Regions from separate parts of the Homo sapiens genome. Here region 2 is linked to region 1. The links are contacts of gene promoters, found by promoter capture Hi-C in human tissues and cell types (Jung and others, 2019). All regions are on one chromosome and are shown on one strand. The core of a region is centred on a gene start or on the middle of the fragment in contact, and the rest is flanking DNA. Distances in the headings are between cores, read along the strand shown.

Region 1 (4,210 bases), core at 1,282-3,781:
TAATTACCAGAGTTCAGTCCCCTGGGATCACACATGTGCTGTCCAACTCTAGGACCAACTGGAGTTTGCAAGACCCTGGGTATGTGCTGTGTATTACATAACTCCAGCACTGACCAGGACATGCAATTACCCTGTCCAGGTGTCCTGTCCAGCTCCAGCACTGGAATGTGGCATCCTTTAAAAGGGGAATACTCTTTCTGTCTGGCTCCCAGCTGATCCCTAGAGTTTAGACGGGCCTCACATATAGTACATGGTGAGTGTAGAAGAGAGAGTAAGGAATACGTGTTCATTTTGCTTGGTCACCTTTGAAACTCCTGACAATACGGGTTCAAGTCTTCATCCAACTGCCCAGAGAAACTGACATCACCAAATTAAGTTTCCCTGCCATTCAGAAGTTGCAGCTGTTTCCAGCTGTTGGGATGCTTGCCAGCCATTCACTGTCACACCTGACCCACCCCTAGCATCTGGGCCAACACTGCTTCTCATCCTGCTGGTCTCAGAAGGTCCCAGATTGGGGAAAGGGATGTCTGGGTCAGTGTAGACAGAATTGCTCTTACAACTGCAAACTGTGCTGCTTTCTGGGATCAGAGATTCCTCACACAAAAATCTCTCAGGTGACAGAAGTGGGCATCCAGAGCTATTCCTAAGACGAGATCCTTTGGGCTGGGTGAACCATGCCCCTGGCTTAGAGGCCAGCTAATCTGGAATCCCAGGTCGGTCATTTGGGGACATCTCTTCCCCAGTGTGTCTCTCAGCACAGGGATTCCATGTCACTTAACAGATGGTAAGATCACAGGGTGACTTTAGTCAGAGGAAAACGCCCTGGAGAACTGTTTAAAACTCTCTAACGGGCCAGGCACGGTGACTCACGCCTCTAATCCCAGCACTTTGGGAGGCGGAGGTGGGTGGATCACCTGAGGTCAGGAGTTCCAGAACAGCCTGGCTAACATGGAGAAACCCCATCTCTATTAAAAATACAAAAAATTAGCCGGGTGTGGTGGCACACGCCTGTAATCCCAGCTACTCAGGAGGCTGAGGCAGGAGAGTCATTTGAACCTGGGAGGCGGAGGTTGCAGTAAGCCAAGATCGTGCCATTGCACTCCAGCCTGGGCAACAAGAGTAAAACTCCATCTCAAAACAAAAACAAAAACAAACCCCAAAAACAACAAACAACAAACAAAAACCTCTGTATAAGGCAGGGTCTCTCATTGGAGCCAAGGTCTGTCATGTGGGGCCGCGTCATTCCTTGCAGTGGAAGCTGACCTGCACATCGAAAGCTGTTTACCAGCATTCCTGGCCTGCACCCACTTAATGCCAACACCAAATGCCTCTCCCTATTTGTGACAACCAAAAATACCTCCAGACATTTCCCAGCGGCCTCAGGGAGACAAAAATCCCCCCCAGGGCTGAGAACCACTATTCTAAGGGATGCCAGCTTTGAAAGAAGCATTAGGATGAAAATTTGTAGGGTTCCGATTTCACGAAGCCTAGGAGAGGGAAGTCTGGATGCTCAGAGCGCAGTAGACTGTCTTGCTTTTAAAACTGTGACCAGCAAGGACCAACTACTCACTGCAAATAACGACACCCACCTAGTCTCACTGCTTACCAGTTTTCTGGAAACTCCTAAACAAGGGCTGCTTGAACAAGCCGCCTTCTAAACGCCCAGCTGGACTAAAAGGCTGGTCTTGTGCAGACCAGGGCAGCCCCCCTGAACCCGCAGCCCTGCAGAGCTCACCCGAACTTGCCAGGTTTAGAAATATTCTCTGTGAAGCCAACTTAGCAGTACTCCCCAGCAGTTAGTTAATTCACCTTCTCCCCGCTGTCAACCCACCAGAAGCCTGCAAGCAAACCTCTAGAAAAATGTAGAAGCAAAACAAACACTTCCTCCTCCCTCACCACGCCCACCCACGGGAAAGTGCCCCTTCGCACTCTCCTCCCACTTCTCAGCCAAGACGCTCCTCTTACCTTCATACCTTGGACAACTGGAAATCGCCACCCATGATGACAGCCCGGGTCACACGAAGGGGGCGAGGTGGGGCGGGGGGAGCTGACCTCAGCACCTTTAGCTTTTGGGAGTCCCTGTACCTCCACAGAGCCACTTCGGAAACTTTAGGGCGCCCCCTCCTCAAGACGATTCGGGAACAAGAGGCCAGGTCCAGCCCAGCGCGGAGGCTGTGTGGCCTTGGGCAGGTCGCTGCAACACTCTGAGCCAGTACCCGCGACCCCCACCCCAGAAGGCGACCGACCTCCTCTGTCGCCGGAGGATACTCACGGGGCCTGAGGCTGCGCGGCGCGCACGCCGTCCCGCGCCGACAGCAGCAGGAGCAGGAGCGGGAGCAACGGCCAGAGCAGGGCGCCGCTCATTTTTCGGCTCCTGGGGGGCGCCGCGCCTGGGGAGGGGGCCGGGCCAGGGCTGGGCCAGGGCCAGGGTCCGAGCGCGGCCGTCCTCGCGCCGCCGCCGGGGGCCCTTTGTTCGCAGCCCCCGCGCAGTGCGCCCGGCGCCATGCGCCCCGCTCCGCGCCCGGCCAAGCTGGGGCAGCCCCGGGCCAGCCCCCTCCCCGGACCCGCCTCGTCTCCGGGACCGCCCCGCTCGCCCCGCTCGCCCCGCTCCTGGGCGCACCCTCCCGGGACGCCTGCTCCGCCCATCTCCGGACCCCGACCCGCCCCGATCCCTTCCGGGGATCGTCCCCTCACTTACTCACCGGACCCACCCGGGCCCTGCCCGATTCCTTCCGAACCCGCCTCCTCACCCCCTACCCGGATTCGCCCCCGGATGCCCCCCTCCCCACCAGCCCCGCCTCGGACCCGACCCCCCACCGCCCCCACTCTCCCTCTCCTCTCCACCCAGCGTCCACTCGGAACCTGTCCCTTCCCTGGCCTCTCCCTCCCTCCCTCCCCAGCCAGCCCCTTATGGCCCCCTCCCCGGGCCCGCCCCTCACCAGGGGCCCCTGGGTCTGGACGCCGCCTGCAACCCCGATCCCACAGGCGCCGCCGTGCCCTAAGCCCTGGCCTGTATCTAGTGCCCAGTGCAGTGCGTACAGCCCAAGGAGCAGAGGACCCTTTGGGGAAACAGTCTAGCCAGGGGTCGAACCTCCCAGACTCACATCTGCCCCAGGTCCCTATCTGTGCTCTCTGCTCCCCTCTCCCCCACCCCCACTGTCCACAAATCCCTTGGGCCCGTCCCCTCTCTCGCTGGGCCTCAGAGTCCCCCTTTCCCCTTCATACAGCAGGGGTGGATGGGCACCCCCTTTCTCTCCAAGAGCAGGGTGTCCCCTCCTGCCCCTCCCCGTGTGGCCACCTCAGTGATGGTCCTGCTGTCCTAGGTCCCACTGGCAGGCGGCACATCCTATACCATGTCCAAGTCCTGGACCCCCTCCTTCCAGTGTGGAACCCCCTTCCCCCAGCTACCAACTGCCCTTCTTCTAAAATTCCAGTGCTGACCACACCCCCTCCTGCCCGGAATCCTCGGGGCTCCCTGTTTATTTTACATTTTATTTTTATGTTTTGAGACCAGAGTTTTGCTCTGTTGCCCAGGCAGGAATTTAGTGGTGCAGTCACAGCTCACTGCAGCTTCAGACTCCTGGAGAGTAGCTGGGACTACAGGTGCAAGCCCGCACCCAGCTAATTTTTATATATTTTTTTTTAGAAACGGAGTCGCACTGTGTTGCCCAGGCTGGTCTTGAGCACTGGGCTCAAATGATCCTCCCTCCTCAGCCTCCCAAAGTGCTGGGATTACAGGTGTGAGCCACCACATCCAGCCAGGGCTTCCCGTTTATTGAGACCAAATCTAAACTCTGGCTTTGATGGCAGAGACCTCAGCCTAGTTCCTCCAACACCCTGTTCTTACTCCACTGCCTGCTTCTGCCTAATCTCTGTCTTCCTCTACCTGCCTCCTTTGCCAGTCCAACTCCTGATCCTTCCAGGAAACTCAAGGGAAGCTTCTCTTGCCCCCTCCCTGCCCCTAGGGATGTGGGTCCTCTGGGGGCTTCTCAGCCCTGTCAACAGCCTTTGGACCCAACACTGATCACCCAGGCAGCACCAAGCCCTGGGCTGGGCAATGAGGACCCTGGGACATACAGGACCTGCTGCCACTGAGCACACAACCCAGAGGGGACGTAACTGATGATGGTGTGTTGGTGTGTGTGTGTGCGTGCACGCGCGCAGGGGCCGGAGTAGATTGAGTAGCCGTCTCTCCTGCCTGGAGAAGAGG
Region 2 (3,908 bases), core at 379-2,878, 140 kb after region 1:
ACATGCAGATACATTTATATGTAAACATGCCTATTGATACATAAATATGTTCCTACAGTGTGGGGATCCCTTATCCAAACTGCTTGGGAGCAGAAGTGTCTCAGGTTTGGGATTTTTTTCAGATTTTTCAATATTTATATTATACTTACTGGTTGAACATCCCAAATCTGAAAATCCAAAATCTGAAATGCTTCAATGAGCGTTGTCTTTGAGCATCACATAACATTGGCAGTCCAAAAGTTTTGGATTTTTTTTTTTTTTTTTGAGATGGAGTCTTGCTATATTGCCCGGGCTGGTCTCAAACTCCTGGACTCAAGCCATCCTCCAGCCTCAGTAAAGTATTTTTTACTTTTTATTTTTTGCACAGACAGGATCTTGCTATGTTGTCCAGGCTGGTCTTGAACTCCTGGCCTCAAGCGATCCTACCACCTTGGCCTCTCAGTTACTTTTTATGTCAGTTACATGTTAACATGATCACATTTTGGATATATCATGTTAAATTAAGTGTATTATTAGAGCTATTTTTTTTTTTTTTTTTTTGTGACGGAGTTTCGCTCTTGTTGCCCAGGCTGGAGTAGGACTAATGGCGCAATCTTGGCTCACTGCAACCTCCACTTCCCGTGTTCAAGCGATTTTCCTGCCTCAGCCTCCTGAGTAGCTGGGATTACAGGCTTGTGCAACCACGCCTGGCTAATTTTGTATCTTTAGTAGAGATGGGATTTTGCTATGTTGGTCAGGCTGGTCTCAAACTCCTGACCTCAGGTGATCCACCTGCCTTGGCCTCCCAAAGTGCTGGGATTACAGGCGTGAGCCACTGTGCCCAGCCCTATTAGAGTTAATTTTAAGCCACGCATCAGTTTAAAAAGTTTCCTATTTTGAAGCATTTCAGATTTTCGGATTAGGGATACTCGACCTGTATGCAATATATGTTATGTAGATATTACATATCTGGGAGATAAGAAACTTACCGACCCCGCGCCACCCCTGCAGGAGGAATATCAGGGCGAGGGGATCACGTGGCACAACATCGGCTACACAGACAATGTCGGCTGCATCCATCTCATCAGCAAGAAACCCACGGGCCTCTTCTACCTGCTGGACGAGGAGAGCAAGTGAGTGTCCACACCCCGTCCATCCCGGCACATCTACGCATGGGCACTGGGTCAGGTTCTGCAGCCCCCAGAGCCTTACCCCAAATCCAGACTTTCCCAAGAGCGCCTTTTTATTTTTGAGACAGGGTCTCACTCTGTCACCCAGGCTGGAGTGTAGTGGTGCAATCAAAGCTCACTGCAGCCTTGACCTCCTGGGCTCAAGTGATCCCCTGACGTGAGCCTCTGGAGTAGCTGGGACTACAGGGTCACACCACCATACCCGGCTAATTTTTGTATTTCTTTGTAGCAACAGGGTTTCGTCATGTTTTCCAGGCTGGTCTTGAACTCCTTAGCTCAAGGGATCCTCCCGCCTTGGCCTCCGAGAGTACTGGGATTACAGGCGTGTGCCACCACGCCAGACCTTGTGCTGAGAACTTGTGTCTGTTCATTTCACTTGACCACAAAACCCAAGCTCGTGTGTGCAAAATGCACAAACACCTCATTGTGAAAACATCAACACGTGTGATTAATTCGTGCACTTGAGGCACATCCGCCAGGAGTTTTCAGCAAAGGATTATGGGCCTATGCCTAGAAACTAGACACTGGGGCCAGACGTGGTGGGGCATACCTGTGGCCCCAGCTACTCAGGAGGCTGAGACAGGAGGATCACTTGAGCCTGGGAGGTTGAGGCTGCAGGGAGCTGTGATCGTGTCACTGCACTCCAGCCTGGGCAATGGAGCAAGAGACAGGATTGGCGAGTTGTTACAAAGGGCAGTGCAGTGTGTGGAATTGGGACCCAGATGCTGCTGGGCTCTGGTCTCACTTCTGAGCCTTCCTCCCTCATCCCCACAGTCCACAGGGCGCTGTGAAGGCAGACAGGTCAATAAGGCACCTCATTCTGGGTCACCCAGTTGTAGTCACTGAAATCACGTGACACATACCGAACTACTTTCCTGTGGCTCCTCTAAGGAACCGCTACAAGCCAGGTGGGCTCTTGAGCCCAGGAGATCAAGACCAGCCTGGGCAACACAGAAAGATTCCACCTCGGCCAGGCACAGTGGCTCACGCCTGTAATCCCAGCACTTTGGGAGGCCGAGGCAGGCGGATCACCTGAGGTCAGGAGTTGGAGACCAGCCTGGCCAACATGGTGAAGCCCCGTCTCTACTGAAAATACAAAAATTAGCCGGGCATGGTGACAGGCGCCTGTAATCCCAGCTACTCAGGAGGCTGAGGCAGGAAAATTGCTTGAACCTGGGAGGCGGAGGTTGCAGTGAGCGGAGATCACTCCATTGCACTCCAGCCTGGGTGACAGACCAAGACTCTGTCTCAAAAAAAAAAAAAAAAAAAAAGATTCCATCTCTACAAAAAAATTTTTAACCAGCCTGGCCAACATGGCAAAACCCCATCTCTACTAAAAATGCAAAAATTAGCCAGGCATGGTGGCGGGTGCCTATAATTCCAGCTACTTGGGAGGCTGAGGCAGGAGAATTGTTTGAACCCGGGAGGTGGAGTTCTTAAAACCACAGTAATCTATTCTCTTATGGTTCTGGAAGCTGGAAGTCTAAAGTCAAACTGTCAGCAGAGCTGTGCTGCCTCCAGAGGCTCCAAGGGAGGACCCTTTCTTGCCTCCTCCAGCTTCTAGGGGTCCAAGCTTTCCTTGGCTTTTGGCCACATCACTCCAGTCCCTGCCTCCCTCTTCCTCTTCACATGGACTTCTTCCCTCTGTGTCTGCATCATTCATCTCAATCCTGTCTCCTCCTTTTTTTTTTTTTTTTTTTTTTTTTTTTTGAGACAGGCTCTTCTTGCTCTGTTGCCCAGGCTGGAGGGTAGTGGCGCCATCTTGGCTCAAGTTAATTGGCGTCATCTCAGCTCACTGTAACCCCCACCTCCCAGGATCAAGCGATTCTCGTGTCTCAGCCTCCCGAGTAGCTGGGATCACAGGTGCCTTGCCACCATGCCCAGCTAATTTTTGTATTTTTAGTAGAGATGGGGTTTTTTCACCATGTTGGCCAGGCTGCTTAAAAATTTTTTTTTGTAGAGATGGAATCTCCCTGTATTGCCCAGGCTAGTCTTGAACTCCTGGGCTCAAGCAGTCCTCTCACCTTGACCTCCCAAAGTGCTGGGACCATAGGTGTGAGCCATTACACCTGACCCTGTCTTCTGTTTTTAGAAGGACACCATCCATATGGAACTAGGTCCCACGCTAATGACCTCATCTTAACTAATTACATCTCCAAAGACCCTATTTTCCAAATAAGGTCACATTCAAAAGTTGGTGGTATGGGGTTAAGATATGGACATATTGTCTTATCAGCAGCTCTATCAGACCCATCCCTTGCCAATGACATCTCCAAGGGGCTGGCCAGAGACTCAAATGAATGAGGCACATCCCCTGCCTCAAACCTAGTCCCTGTCCAGGTCAGGGAGACAGACACATCCCTCTGAGGCTGGGGTCCAGGTAGAGAATGTTCAGATAAGAGCATTTGTGCCAGGTGCGGTGGCTCCCACCTGTAATTCCAACACTTTGGGAGGCCGAGGTGGAGGATCATTTGAGACCAGGAGTTAAAGACCAGCCTGGGCACCATAGTGAGACCCCATCTCTACAAAAAAAAAAAAAAAAAAAAAAAAAAACTAGCTGGGCACAGTGGCATGCACCTATAGTCCCAGCTACTCAGGAGGCTGAGGCAGGAGGATCACTTGAGCCCAGAGAGTCAAGGCTACAGTGAGTTGTGATTGTACCATTGCATTCTAGCCTGGGCAACAGAGCAAGACCCCAGCTCTAAAAATTAAAAAAAAAAAAAAAAAAGTAGAGACGGC

What was found. Contacts are between HindIII fragments. The study calls those that stand out against the background at their distance.
Region 2: a contact is called between a fragment that was not itself captured here and the fragment with the promoter of CPAMD8 in region 1, in 8 of the 25 tissues and cell types used here (H1 embryonic stem cells, bladder, dorsolateral prefrontal cortex and 5 more).

What each region holds. Positions count from the first base shown.
Region 1 is chr19:17,024,279-17,028,488 of GRCh38, forward strand. It overlaps CPAMD8 (C3 and PZP like alpha-2-macroglobulin domain containing 8), which reads right to left and starts at 2,532. Exons shown (of 42, transcript NM_015692.5): 1 at 2,273-2,532. The coding sequence starts at 2,364. RefSeq lists an enhancer at 2,704-3,612. The HindIII fragment of the contact is 4,679 bases long and covers 513-4,210 here.
Region 2 is chr19:17,166,953-17,170,860 of GRCh38, forward strand. MYO9B (myosin IXB) reads left to right here. Exons shown (of 40, transcript NM_004145.4): 11 at 991-1,112. Among named protein-coding and RNA genes, the nearest start is that of USE1, 46 kb to the right of the region's middle. The HindIII fragment of the contact is 6,459 bases long and covers 1-3,908 here.